Linked DNA regions of Homo sapiens: all the other regions are linked to region 1. Evidence: promoter capture Hi-C in 16 types of primary human blood cells and fetal thymus (Javierre and others, 2016). All regions are on one chromosome and are shown on one strand. Each heading gives the region's core, a stretch centred on a gene start or on the middle of the fragment in contact. The rest is flanking DNA. Distances are from core to core; before and after follow the strand shown.

The links. The method cuts DNA at HindIII sites, captures the fragments that hold promoters and counts their contacts. A CHiCAGO score of 5 or more calls a contact.
Region 2: a fragment that was not itself captured here is called in contact with the fragment with the promoter of GPA33-AS1 in region 1 in 12 of 17 cell types (naive CD4 T cells, naive CD8 T cells, activated CD4 T cells and 9 more); the score reaches 10.3 in naive CD4 T cells.
Region 3: a fragment that was not itself captured here is called in contact with the fragment with the promoter of GPA33-AS1 in region 1 in 9 of 17 cell types (total CD8 T cells, naive CD4 T cells, naive B cells and 6 more); the score reaches 7.0 in total CD8 T cells.

The regions. Positions count from the first base shown.
Region 1 is chr1:167,050,740-167,055,181 of GRCh38, reverse strand. GPA33-AS1 (GPA33 antisense RNA 1) reads right to left here and starts at 2,497. Exons shown (of 6, transcript XR_922249.3): 1 at 2,416-2,497. It overlaps GPA33 (glycoprotein A33), which reads left to right. Exons shown (of 7, transcript NM_005814.3): 6 at 71-206; 7 at 716-2,346. The coding sequence ends at 848. The HindIII fragment of the contact is 1,060 bases long and covers 2,389-3,448 here.
Region 2 is chr1:166,927,967-166,932,408 of GRCh38, reverse strand. The region is part of intron 6 of ILDR2 (immunoglobulin like domain containing receptor 2); the gene reads left to right. The region is part of intron 1 of LOC124904449 (a long non-coding RNA gene); the gene reads right to left. Among named protein-coding and RNA genes, the nearest start is that of ILDR2, 45 kb to the left of the region's middle. The HindIII fragment of the contact is 4,242 bases long and covers 1-4,076 here.
Region 3 is chr1:166,945,631-166,950,072 of GRCh38, reverse strand. All of the region lies in intron 3 of ILDR2 (immunoglobulin like domain containing receptor 2), which reads left to right. All of the region lies in intron 1 of LOC124904449 (a long non-coding RNA gene), which reads right to left. Among named protein-coding and RNA genes, the nearest start is that of ILDR2, 28 kb to the left of the region's middle. RefSeq lists a silencer at 2,379-2,428. The HindIII fragment of the contact is 3,088 bases long and covers 468-3,555 here.

The DNA of each region.
Region 1 (4,442 bases), core at 1,248-3,747:
CCCCTGGCTGGGAGGAGACCCGGAGCTAGCTTAGAAGCTCGGCAAGTGCAGCTGCTCTGTCCTCTTGCAGCCTCCATGAACGTGGCCCTGTATGTGGGCATCGCGGTGGGCGTGGTTGCAGCCCTCATTATCATTGGCATCATCATCTACTGCTGCTGCTGCCGAGGGAAGGACGACAACACTGAAGACAAGGAGGATGCAAGGCCGTGAGTGTCTGGGCTGGTAGCCTGTTGGAAGGGTCTGGGGAGACTGGAAATATGCTTCCCAATTCCTCACAGCCTCTTCTACTTGCAGCACCCCTTGGGGTATATCACCCCCATTTTGTGCTGATGAAACAATGACCTGTCCAAGCCATAAAATGTGCATTGCAGCCCCAGGACCTGCCTCCCAGTCCTGTGGTTTTCCAGTCTGGGAGCTCAGGGCCGGGCTTCCTGTGGCATGACTAGAGCCAAGTGTGGCCTGGAGCCCCTGTCACGGGGCCAGTTCCTCCTGGGCTGGTAAAGCCAGCCTGTTCCTGTAACCCCCTCAGCTCATGCGTGGAACAAGTCTGTGGCACCTTTACTCTCAGCCCAGCCTTTCAGCCCAGTGTCCTCTGCAGCTGGTGGGTGGGGAGGAGGTCTGGAGGCTGCTCTTCCTGTAATGCACATGAGGCCCAGCTCCCTTGAGGGTCCACCTGAGAGCAAATCCTTCCCCTCTGTCCCCTGCTGCCCTGCAGGAACCGGGAAGCCTATGAGGAGCCACCAGAGCAGCTAAGAGAACTTTCCAGAGAGAGGGAGGAGGAGGATGACTACAGGCAAGAAGAGCAGAGGAGCACTGGGCGTGAATCCCCGGACCACCTCGACCAGTGACAGGCCAGCAGCAGAGGGCGGCGGAGGAAGGGTTAGGGGTTCATTCTCCCGCTTCCTGGCCTCCCTTCTCCTTTCTAAGCCCTGTTCTCCTGTCCCTCCATCCCAGACATTGATGGGGACATTTCTTCCCCAGTGTCAGCTGTGGGGAACATGGCTGGCCTGGTAAGGGGGTCCCTGTGCTGATCCTGCTGACCTCACTGTCCTGTGAAGTAACCCCTCCTGGCTGTGACACCTGGTGCGGGCCTGGCCCTCACTCAAGACCAGGCTGCAGCCTCCACTTCCCTCGTAGTTGGCAGGAGCTCCTGGAAGCACAGCGCTGAGCATGGGGCGCTCCCACTCAGAACTCTCCAGGGAGGCGATGCCAGCCTTGGGGGGTGGGGGCTGTCCTGCTCACCTGTGTGCCCAGCACCTGGAGGGGCACCAGGTGGAGGGTTTGCACTCCACACATCTTTCTTGAATGAATGAAAGAATAAGTGAGTATGCTTGGGCCCTGCATTGGCCTGGCCTCCAGCTCCCACTCCCTTTCCAACCTCACTTCCCGTAGCTGCCAGTATGTTCCAAACCCTCCTGGGAAGGCCACCTCCCACTCCTGCTGCACAGGCCCTGGGGAGCTTTTGCCCACACACTTTCCATCTCTGCCTGTCAATATCGTACCTGTCCCTCCAGGCCCATCTCAAATCACAAGGATTTCTCTAACCCTATCCTAATTGTCCACATACGTGGAAACAATCCTGTTACTCTGTCCCACGTCCAATCATGGGCCACAAGGCACAGTCTTCTGAGCGAGTGCTCTCACTGTATTAGAGCGCCAGCTCCTTGGGGCAGGGCCTGGGCCTCATGGCTTTTGCTTTCCCTGAAGCCCTAGTAGCTGGCGCCCATCCTAGTGGGCACTTAAGCTTAATTGGGGAAACTGCTTTGATTGGTTGTGCCTTCCCTTCTCTGGTCTCCTTGAGATGATCGTAGACACAGGGATGATTCCCACCCAAACCCACGTATTCATTCAGTGAGTTAAACACGAATTGATTTAAAGTGAACACACACAAGGGAGCTTGCTTGCAGATGGTCTGAGTTCTTGTGTCCTGGTAATTCCTCTCCAGGCCAGAATAATTGGCATGTCTCCTCAACCCACATGGGGTTCCTGGTTGTTCCTGCATCCCGATACCTCAGCCCTGGCCCTGCCCAGCCCATTTGGGCTCTGGTTTTCTGGTGGGGCTGTCCTGCTGCCCTCCCACAGCCTCCTTCTGTTTGTCGAGCATTTCTTCTACTCTTGAGAGCTCAGGCAGCGTTAGGGCTGCTTAGGTCTCATGGACCAGTGGCTGGTCTCACCCAACTGCAGTTTACTATTGCTATCTTTTCTGGATGATCAGAAAAATAATTCCATAAATCTATTGTCTACTTGCGATTTTTTAAAAAATGTATATTTTTATATATATTGTTAAATCCTTTGCTTCATTCCAAATGCTTTCAGTAATAATAAAATTGTGGGTGGAAATTCTTATTTCTTTTTTAATGTGGATTTTGTTTGCAGTAAGATAAAGCTTGGGTCTCATGGATCATCTCTACTCACCATAGCACTCTTCTGCTTCCTAGGGGAGGTGAGACAAGGTAACAGATTTGAGAATCCTGGGGTCCCTCTGCTTGTGGCCGCAGTAGGGTCAGGCAGTGCCTCTAGTGGTTGCTGGGAATAGGACAGATTCCTGCCTGCTGGTGGAGGTATATTCCAGGAGTCTGCAGTGTCAGGACACCAGGAGGCCTGGGTGTCGGTCCACGTGCTTGAAGGAAGATGGTGGAGATGCTCTAGCCAGTTCTGCTTCCTATGATGCCCCTTCTGAGAAAGGGGCGGGGCAGTCCTCTTGTTCTGTCACAGAGAACTGTGACGCTTCCTCCTCCAAGGCAACTTCGCTCCGCTGTGGGCTCTTGGCTTTGACATGGACTCTCCTGCGAGATATTCAAGGTCTGTTCTTCAGTGTCCTTTCCTGTGCTCCCTCCTGTCCGAGCACTTGTCACACAGTACTGTGTGCCTATTATACCTGTGTACAGGTCTGTCTCTGCCTCACCCTGTATGATTTGTAAGGATAGGAACTGTAGCTTCTTTATGGCCTGGCATGTGTTGACCCTTGACAAAGGTTTGTTAAATGAATAACATTTGGTATCACAGTATCTTGCCCAAGGACATCTCCTAGCTCTCTAGATACTCTGAGGTGCCTTCCAGTCCTCACGGTGCAAGGTTCCACAAGCATGTTCTTGAGGGAGCCACGGAAGCAGAGGCGGCCACCTTCCCCCAGGTTTGACTTGACTTCTCTCTGCCCCTCAAAGGACTCTGAAGGTTCACCTGCCTTAGCTCCAGGCTTAGGGAAGAAAAGGAGGGAAATCGAGACCCACTGCATTAATTCAACAACAAATATTTTGTGAGCATCTACTACGTGCCAAGCAGTGTGCTGTTTGCAGAGTATATAAAAGTCACTAAGAAACTGTTATTCAGGAGGAGCTAAAATCTAATGGCGGTCACAGACATAGAAACATAATTACATGAGCAAGAGAAGGGGCTACAGGACACAGGAGGGCCTGAGTAACTCAGCCTAAGGGAGTTCAGGAAAGCTTCAGAGAGGAGGTTGCATTTGGGCTGCATCTTGAAGAAGAATGAGGAGTTTTACAAGTGGAAAAGGGCTGGTGCTGACATTTCTTCTGTCCTCCAATGCATGTTTCTATTACTTGGGTGTCAAATCATATTATCACTCAGTAAGACTACAGTTTCCTGCTGAATTTATTTCGGTCCACAGACTCTGGGAATTGGACTGTTGTAGGTTCTTATACAATCAAAATTAGCCCAGCAATGCAGTCTCCTTAGAATGTTAGGCATCCCTTCCCAAATTATGGTTTCCAGCTGCTGGTTCAAAGACTTTATGGTGTTTTAGAAGAGAGACAAATGCTACCCATTAATTGAGGGAAGATTGTGTACTATAAACCCTTATTAGGCACTTCAGACAGTTTTCCATATAATCCCCACTCGCAGTTTCAAATACTTGGGCATATGCCAATGTTAGGTGTTCATGTTATCACCTAAGGAGGGACTCTGGCTGCCCAGAGAGGAATCCATGAACTGATACACAGCTTGGTAAATTAGCCACTCTTCAGGATCTTGTTATTTATTTATTTATTTATTTTTAATTTTACTTTAAGTTCTGGGATACACGTGCAGGACGTGCAGGTTTGTTACATATGTATACATGTGCCATGGTGCACCTATCTACCCGTCATCTAGGTTTTAAGCCCCACATGCATTACATATTTGTCCTAATGCTCTCCCTCCCAAAAAGTCTTGTTCTTAAGCTGCTTTTGTGACACAGTGACAGGGCCTCAGCTCTCAAATGCAGAGTCACATTAACCAAGCTCACAGTGCCTGATGTACAATGCTTATAGCAGCAGCACTTGCTCTGGGCCAGGTACTGTTCTAGGCCTTTTCCATAGAACATCTCATAATCTTCACCCTATGAGATAAGTGCTATTATTCTTCCCATTTTACAGATGAGGAAGCTGAGACACAGTGAATTTAAGCAATTTGGATCAACACAGAATGTCAATTTGCTATTTATA
Region 2 (4,442 bases), core at 706-3,205, 120 kb after region 1:
TGCTTTCCTGTCCCTTTACTCTTCTTCACAGCCAAACTCCTTGAAAGAGTTTTGAATATTAAATGTTTCCTTTCCCTCTGCTCTCACCAACTCCCCAGCTCCCTTCCATCTTGCTATTGCTTTCACCATTCCAGAAACCAGCTCTTGCTAAGATTGTCTGATTGCTAAATTTAATGGATCCTTTTCAATCATTACCTCCTTTGACTTCTCAAAAGCATTTGCCACTCTGAGGCGCTCATCTTTCTTTGCCTTTCTCAGCACTGTACTTTGTAATTTTTCTTACCTATCTCTGTGTATGCTGGGTGTTCTTCCACTGTACATCCTCCAGATGTTCCTGTTTTGTTTGAGGTCCTCTCCCTGGGAAACCTTATTCACTCCTGTGGCTTCAATCATCATCTATATGCTGATGACTTCTGATCATTATCTCCAGCCTCTCTTTTGCTCCTCAATACCGTATATCCAACTGTCTTCTGGACATCTCCACCTGGGTGTTTTGCAGGCATTTCAACCTCAGCCCCTAGGAAATTGAATTAATCTGCTGCTTCTTCACTTCGAACCAGCTTCTACATATCTTATCTCAGTGGATGGCATTGTTGTCCACCTTTTAGCCCAAACCAGAAGCAGAGACTTCATCCTTATCCCTTCCTTCTCCCCCACTTCCCTCATCCAATTGGTCACCAAGTCCTTTAGATTGTAACTCAAAATAACCTTGAGTTGGTTTCCTTTTCTCCATCTCTACTGAAACTGTCCTAGTCCTTGCTGCCATTACCTCCCACCTTGCTTAACACAATCATCTCCCACCTGGTCCTTCCACATCTACTCTGCTTTGCTCTAATCCATTTTGTTTCCACATCTACCTGTCCTCCACCCATTCTTCATGCAAAAGAATTGAGTAGGCAAGTAGGGTTTTGAAATGTCATTTTCAAAATTAATAAGGATGTGTATCTATATATATGCCTACTGTATGTATACAGAGAATATGCAAATTTTAAGAATCACTTCTCCCACAGCTGAGCTGCTGTCACCTTGGGGGTGGAATCTGGCAGCTGTTCCATCATCCATAAACAGCTTTACTTAGCTTATTAAGATAGGACAGGAAGAACAAGGCTATATCCATGAGTATCTGCCTCGGAGACTTCTTTTGCAAGTTTTACAAGTTGGATTTTGGCTGTAATGAGGAAATTAGCTGAAAACTACCTAAACCTTAATTGGGTCAAAAGTATCAGCAAAAATCCTTTAACAATAAGAATTTTTAAAATTATAGTTTGGCATCAAAGTGAATATCCCAATATCCCCTCTCCAAAAATTGAAGTTGGCAAGGCTAATAAATTAGAGGAGGTGAAGTATGAAGAGCCACAGCAGCCAAATGACTTGGGCCAGACTGAACTTGAAAACAGATAAATCATCCATCAATCTTAAACTGAAACATCACTGGGGAAAAAGGTCATTTTCCAAATATGCTGAACTTTGGCCAATAGTCTAGGACATTTCTTATTAAAACATCACCATACGTCCCAGAGAGTTCTGTGATCTTCAGACAAATTACAGATAAAAATCAATCTGACACCATGCTATTTGCTGTCAAATCAAGAAAAATTTAATGAACGCTAACAAATTTTACCTGCCGTCAAGGAATGTACAGTCTACCAGGTGGTTGCTGGGGCTTGTAAGTGGAAATAAAATGAGTAAGTAATACAAGGCAGTATAAGATTGATCCATAATGCCAGCTCAGAAAGGAAAATCTCATCCTTGGAGAGGAGGGACCAGGAAAGGTTTTCTGGTGTTTCATATGCTCCTCAGAATGTATGTGACATAGAGCCAGATTCTACCAGGATCAGAGAATAGTTTAGTATATTTGAACTTGTAGCTTATCATTTTTAAAAAGTCCAATAGCTTTTAGAAGGAGAATTGCCCAGGTTTTTAGCTACTGAAACCAAATGGATGATACTCCTAAAGTCAAAAGATCAATACTTTGCCTCTGTCTTTTTTGACAAATTAGAGGAATTTAGATTTCTGAAGTCATGGGCTGCTGTGACTAAGAAGTCAAGGCTGAAAGTATCTGGTACAGTGGAGTCTCTTTATAATGCCAGCACTGAAGGCAAAACTATCATCTTCATTTGAGGCTATAAATGGTTACTGTAACTTTTCAGGGACATGATAACCTATGCATACACAATCAAATCTGTATCATAATGAGGAGTGTAATTTGTTATAATGACATAGAAAACTATGCTCTAGTCCAAGTGGCAATTAACTGAGGATCCTCCAGCTGCTTCTCAGGGTGGCAGCCATCTCTCACCGACCATGTCTGTCTGCCAGGGCACAGCTGGTACATTGTTCCATATAGCAACAACTTTATGGGCCCCCTCCCCCATGACCTCTAGTGCAGTATCACTGAATGTTTACCATAACAGTGCTTCAGAAATTAGAACACCTAGATAAAACCACAGCTCCAGGTAGGGTAGGCCCTTTTCATAATGCATACAGACATGCTAGTTTTCCTTAAAAAAATTAATAATAATAATAATCATGATACCCAGACTTTTCTACGATCCAAGCCTTTCCCTTCCTGATCAAAATTCTCCAATAAACCGCCCATATGGCCTCATCTGCTATATGTTGTAGTCTCTTATAATATGGTTTCTATTCCCAGTTTCTCCTCATTCATTCACTCATTCCTTCATTCATTACAAACACACATATTTCAAATGTCTACAATGTGCCAGGCTCTATGCTAGGTGCTGGGGATACAGAAGCGAACCTAGTCCTTGCTCTCAGGAAGTTTGCAGTCTAGAGGGGAAAACTCTACTGAAAATGCACTTCTCAAAGAAACCATTAACCCTGCCCCAATTCCCAGGCTGACAGCAATGCAACGAACATTTTTTAAGTTCCCCACTATGTGTAAAGCATGGTTTTAGGCACATGGAGATCCAGAACCATAAGGATTCTTTTCCTTCAAGAATCTTTGAGAAGATTAGACATTTATACAGATAACTTGAAACAAACTAGAATATATTAAGGGCCATAATAAAATTCAAACTGAATGATTTGTAAGTTAGAGAGAGAGACAGAACTTTTCAAGCTATGAGAATCAAAGAAAGCCCTTTGGCTGAGGCAGCATTTGAGCAGCTCCTGATAATGATAGAGAACTCAAAGTGCTCCACTGATTTGGTCTTAGTTGTCCTCTCATCTTTAAGAGATTATTTAAAGGTTGGCAAGTATTCATTGCATTTTATAGACATGAAAACTGAGTCCTACATAGGTCACCATTTCTTTGAGGTCCCTCAATAAATAGCACTGCATGCCTACACAATGCCCAGTTCCCCACTTCCCAGGCTGGAGTCTCATCCATCAGACATAACTGCCTCCAGAACAGACATAGCAGTTCTGTGGGATAATTGCATTTTAATTGAACTGTCTGTACGACTCAGTAAATGCCTTTGTAGAGATGGAAGAATGTTTAGCTTGATAAATAAAATTATTTCTGCTAATCATTGCTTCCACACAAGGATTATGGATCTAACCTCTGGGAGAAAGTGCCACTAAAAAGTGTGTGCTGAGATTCATTAATTTTTTTTCTAAGTAATTCCACAATTTGAGATGAATGTGGACTGCCCAGTATATTCTCATATAGAAAATCGGTGCACCTGCAAATGGGTGTGTGGGTGACTTCTGTTTTTAGTGCTTGGACTACAATTAGAGTGCTATGGAATTTTATATTTTAATCTTCCATGTAAATAGCTTGCGTGGGAGGGTTTTGTCCGCAGCCAGGGTAACATGGCCAGACACTATACAGCAGGGTTTTCTCTGAATTTACATGCAGTCATATGGTTTCTTTATGGTGTTTGCCCCACTTTGGGAACAGGGAATGCTGGAGTTAGGTCACTAGCTTACATCCCATTGAAAAGTCCTTAATAGCTGGAATATAGGACCATGCTGTGCAGACCATACAACCCATGGCATAGCTAAAGCAGTTCTTACTCTGGGCTTTCCTTCCTTGTTTTTCTCACCTGTCTCTTCTCACTACCTCTCTTCTTAGACTCTAGAGAGGCAAGATGCCCAAATATGGTTAAGCTTCCATCAGACTACATGGTTCCAGCCCTGGCACTGCTAAATTTTTCCTGGGCAAGTTATGAAACCCCTCTGACCCAAAATTTTCTCAAACATAAAATGTGGCTGATAACAGTACTGTTTTAGGTGGTTCTGAGGAACAAATGTCCATGTAAAGCATTTAGCACAGTACCTAGCACATTTTCAGTGCCCAGTAAGTACTGACTAATTACCATTATTTTTCAGTACCCATCCCATCATTCCCTTCTCTCTTTCGTTTTTTCCTCTTTCTCTTATCTGTAAATTAGGCCCACTGGTATCTATCACTCTTGGGGCTGGTATTGGGCTAGACTGATACTTAAGTGATATGGGGCTTAAACAGCCTTTGTCTC
Region 3 (4,442 bases), core at 762-3,261, 100 kb after region 1:
TCAATTATGCATCAGATATGCTTCAGATTATGCGTCAGTAGAGTTGATTCCCCAAAGAAAGCAGAATCATCCTTTCTATCATCAGCAGACACCTGTGCCTTCAGGTTTCCAGAACAGCTGAAATAACTCCATAGTTTTCCATGAGAGACAGAAAACAAATGAGGAGTGGCTTTTCAGGCCTCAGCCCCACTGCCTTTTCTCCCAGCACTCTCTCCTAGCTTTGGCCTGCTCTGCCCTGAGCTTACCTAGATGCCTCTGCTGGTCTTGTTTTTAAAAAGAACCAGAAAAAAAATGCATTGAAGGGATGGAGGAGAGGGAAGAGCCAGAAAAGTTAGCCAAGTGTCAGCTAGAATCTGATTCTGGTTAATGACTGCCAATAACATTCATTCTACTGAATGAAGAGTGGAGTAGGGCTTGTGGTTCCTTCAAAGATGTGGGATCATGCCTTTCATTCTTTGCAAGAAGCTTCCTTTGGCCTTCAGACCTTTCTACTCCATAATCTCAACCTTGCTCTTTGATAGGCACCATGGAGTGGAGTCAGTTTTGCTTCAAGTATGATTTGTATTTAAATTATGATTTTAAAAAATGATTATTTTTTGCATATTATATCCCTAGCACAGTGAGGATACAAAATAAAGAAATGACAGTGTCTTGTCTCTATAAAAATTACTGTCTTTTGGTGAAGATAAAAGATATATTTCTGAAGCAGTTAGAGAACAATACAAGAAGATATTAAAGCTGTATTTGGATATTAAATATGTAGGCCATTGATTCTCAAGAAGGGGCAATTGTTGCCTTTCCAGGAGATATTTGGCAATGTTTGGAGATAGTTTTTGGTTGTCACAACTTGTGGGATGCTGTGGCATCTAGTGGGTAGAGACTAGGGAGGCTGCTAAGCATTCTACAATATGCAAGGCAGCTCTCCCATTCCCCAAAGGAATTATCTGGCTCCAGATAGAAATAGTGCTGAGGCTGTGAAACTGATCTTGACCAAAGGTCTCTCTGGATATTGGATAAAGTCCACTGTGAACAGCAGAGGCTTCAGGGTCAGACAGCCCTGGACTCAGTGCAGCAATATGAACTTGGACAAGTCAACGTCTATGAGCATGGGTTTCCTTAGCTGAATAAATGGGGAGGGGTAATAAAATTTACACGGAAGACCTATTGTGAAGATTAAATGCACAAAGAACTTAGTAAATGTTAGCTTCCTTCTCCCACCCCTTACCACTCCCCACACCACATCGCCAGCGTTTCATCTCTAATCTGAGGGAACCCTCTTTAGGGAATTCTACATTTGGAGACTCCTGCTAAAGAGCTGATTTTCCTTTAGCCCATTCCACGGGCAGAGGCTTTAATGGCCATCTGTGAATTGGCAATCCTATTGCTAATAGATTCACATTTTCTCAATGACATCTGTACTGTATTTTGCCAGTGGTGACCCTAATCAGCCCAGTGGAAATCTTCCTGCTAGTGGGTTTGAAAGCATTCTGTCCCAGCATGCTATCTTTTGGTTGCTGTTGGAAGCCCCCATTTCTCAGTGGATGACCCTTAGTTAATTGCAGGGTGTTTACTGCCTAACCTAAATACAAGGATTAGGTCACACAGGCCAGGCCATTTGATGAAGTCTGGAGGGATCTGAAGAACACTGGACTTGGATTAGGATCTGGGTGAGCTTGGGAAGACTTTAGATAGGGTGACTTTACAACTTATCATCCAAACTAGGATACTCTTGAGAGTGAAAAGGGGGGACTTTTAATAATTTCTGGCAAGACAACAGGCATAAACCGGAACTGTCTAGGCCAACTGGTATGATGGTCACCCATCTTTAGCTGCTGACCACCTTGAAGGGTCTCCCATAGATTGAAGAGAACAGAAGATCCAGAGGGTTGGGGGGGAAATTAGTGTCGGCTCACCTCCACCTGCTGAACCCTGCTGCTATCTGGCATTTCGTTCCTGGGGACCTATGTATGTGCACGTACATCTCCATTCATCTAGGTACCTGAATCGAGCAGAGGGGCCCAGCAAAGAGGTGGGGGTTTGACGTAATAGTTGTTTTCTGAAAAAATTGCCCTAAGATTTTTGAACCATAAATGACGTCGTTCGCGGCCGTTCACTGCCCTGTGTTAAGAGAACAAATGCGGTCTTGCAGGCGCTATTTCCCCTTCCCTAAGCCCCCAGCCACCCCGGTCGCGCCCGCCGCCCCCTCCTCGCAGCCTTTATTCCGCCTCACTATTTTTGCTTCACTTGTTGCTCATCACTGTGGGAGGAAACTCGGCCTTCAATTAGCGCGCATTCCTGGCGGCCCGCGGTTACCGTGGTTACCCCGGGCAGGAGCCGGAGCAGCTGGGTCAGCCGCGCGCTGCATTGTAGTCGGGTGGACCCGCGCCGGCCCGAGCGGGGGAGGAAACGGGGGCTGGGGGCAGGCGCGAGAGTGGGTGGCACCGAGAAATTGGCTCAGCCCCTGGAAAGAAAGAATGGCAGCTCTTGAAAGCCGGGCAGGAGACAGTTGTCCCATTTTTCTCCAAAGCCAGCTGCCGCTATTCAGGCGTGCAGGCTTGCGTTCACACGGGGGCTGTGCCTCCGACTTTGCTGAATTGGCTTCCCATGAGAGGGTCTGGGAAAGGCCCCATGCCAACCCCTTCACACTAAGGGGGCTGGCCACGGAGGAAAGGGCAGGAACTCTGACAGTTTGAGACCTACCAAGTGTGTGCCCCTCTGTGTCTGCCTGAGACCGCCAGGGCCTTTTTTGGTTAAAGAAAGTGGCCATTCTTGCTATCTTTGTATCTGTGGCAGTCTGATGGATGGAGCACAGTGACTTCAAGACACCACACTGGGCTCCAAGAAACTCACTTTCCCCGTTCCATGACATCCCACGCTCCTCCACGGCATTTTAAAGTCAATCTAGCAGTCTTCTGCATTTCACCTCAGGCCAAGTCGACCATGTTATATTTCTAATAATATTTTGTATTTATTCGCTCTCTGGGGGTGGAGGTTGAATCACTATAGCACTTTGTGAAGTCAGATTACTTTGCAATCATTTTTGTTGTTTATTAGTTTGTAGCAGCATGGTGAATGCCTTTCAATTAGCCCATACTGTGTTATGATGTATTCAGTGATCATTTTTTCCGGTTGCAACTTTAAAAGGTGCTGAAAATTTCAGTTATCTCCAACATTTCCTACATCCAAAAATTGTATTTTAATTACATAAGTAGAGCAGTAGTGCCAAAAACATGAACACATTTCAGGGTCATTCACTACAAATATTAGGAGACTAGAAGGCAGTTGGTGCACATTTCTAGATGAAAGATAAGCAAAGTTTTGGGGTGGTGAGATATTGGGAAAAAAACTGGAATTGGGGTGAGTACACCTGGTTGTATTCTTGGCTTGATCATTAGTGAATTGTGTGACTTGGGGTAAGATTCTTAACCTCTCAGAGCCTCAGATCCCTGAAACATAGGGTAGAATATGGACTAGATGACCTCTAAGATCCTTTCTAGTTATAAAATCTGATTCTAGGATTCTGTGGGAATAGAAGTCAGCTCCTTAGGCCAAGCTTATAACTACTGCCAAAAACAAAAACAAAAAACAAAAAACCAACCTCAAAGCATTTATTAACAGTTAATTGTAGATGGTCCAATACTAGTTATTTTATGGATAGAATTCGGTTTCAGAATTATTCTCCTTTAAGACTATAATTTAAAGTGAACTAAAATGTAAAGGACACAGAAAGAAAAAGTAAACATATGAAATGCTTAAGAACATAGTTTATAAATATATATAAAAGAAAAGGGGGCTATATCCACATTTGTGATAGTCATAAACTATATTTATTAAATGCATGGTTACCATGGGAATATAGAATAAAAACTGGGATGTGTGTGCCCTTGGGAAATTTCCAATCTATTTGGGATTCCAAATAGCCATAGAAACAACTTAACACTTAAAAGCATAGCCATAGAAACATCTTTACATTTAAAAGGGCCAGAGAAAGGCATCTGTTCTCCTCAAAGACATAGGAGTGAAACATTTTGGAGGGTTAGGAGATGACAGAACAGGGGGTGGATACAGTACATCCCTGAAAATGGATCTAGGGCATCTGAGGAAAGCTTGAAAGTGGGATGAAGCTGAGATGTGCATTAAACATAAGGGAGAAGAGGGGAACCACACGGAGCTGGGGAAGAAAGGCATTCCTCACTGTCCTAAACAGAAAGTTCATCTGTATAGTGTGTTGGCAAACCCTAGAAGGACTCCAACTTAATAAGTTTAAAGAAATGGAGGTAACTCTGCTGTCAGCAGTGGTGTCATAAAGATAAAGGAAATGTTATACTTCCTTTTCCTAAGTTCCAATGCATTAAACAATGTGTTATCAAGTGATTGAGTAAGCAGGTTCTGAAAACAGGTTTGTCCTAAATCCTGAACTTCTTTACCTTCCATTGTAACTT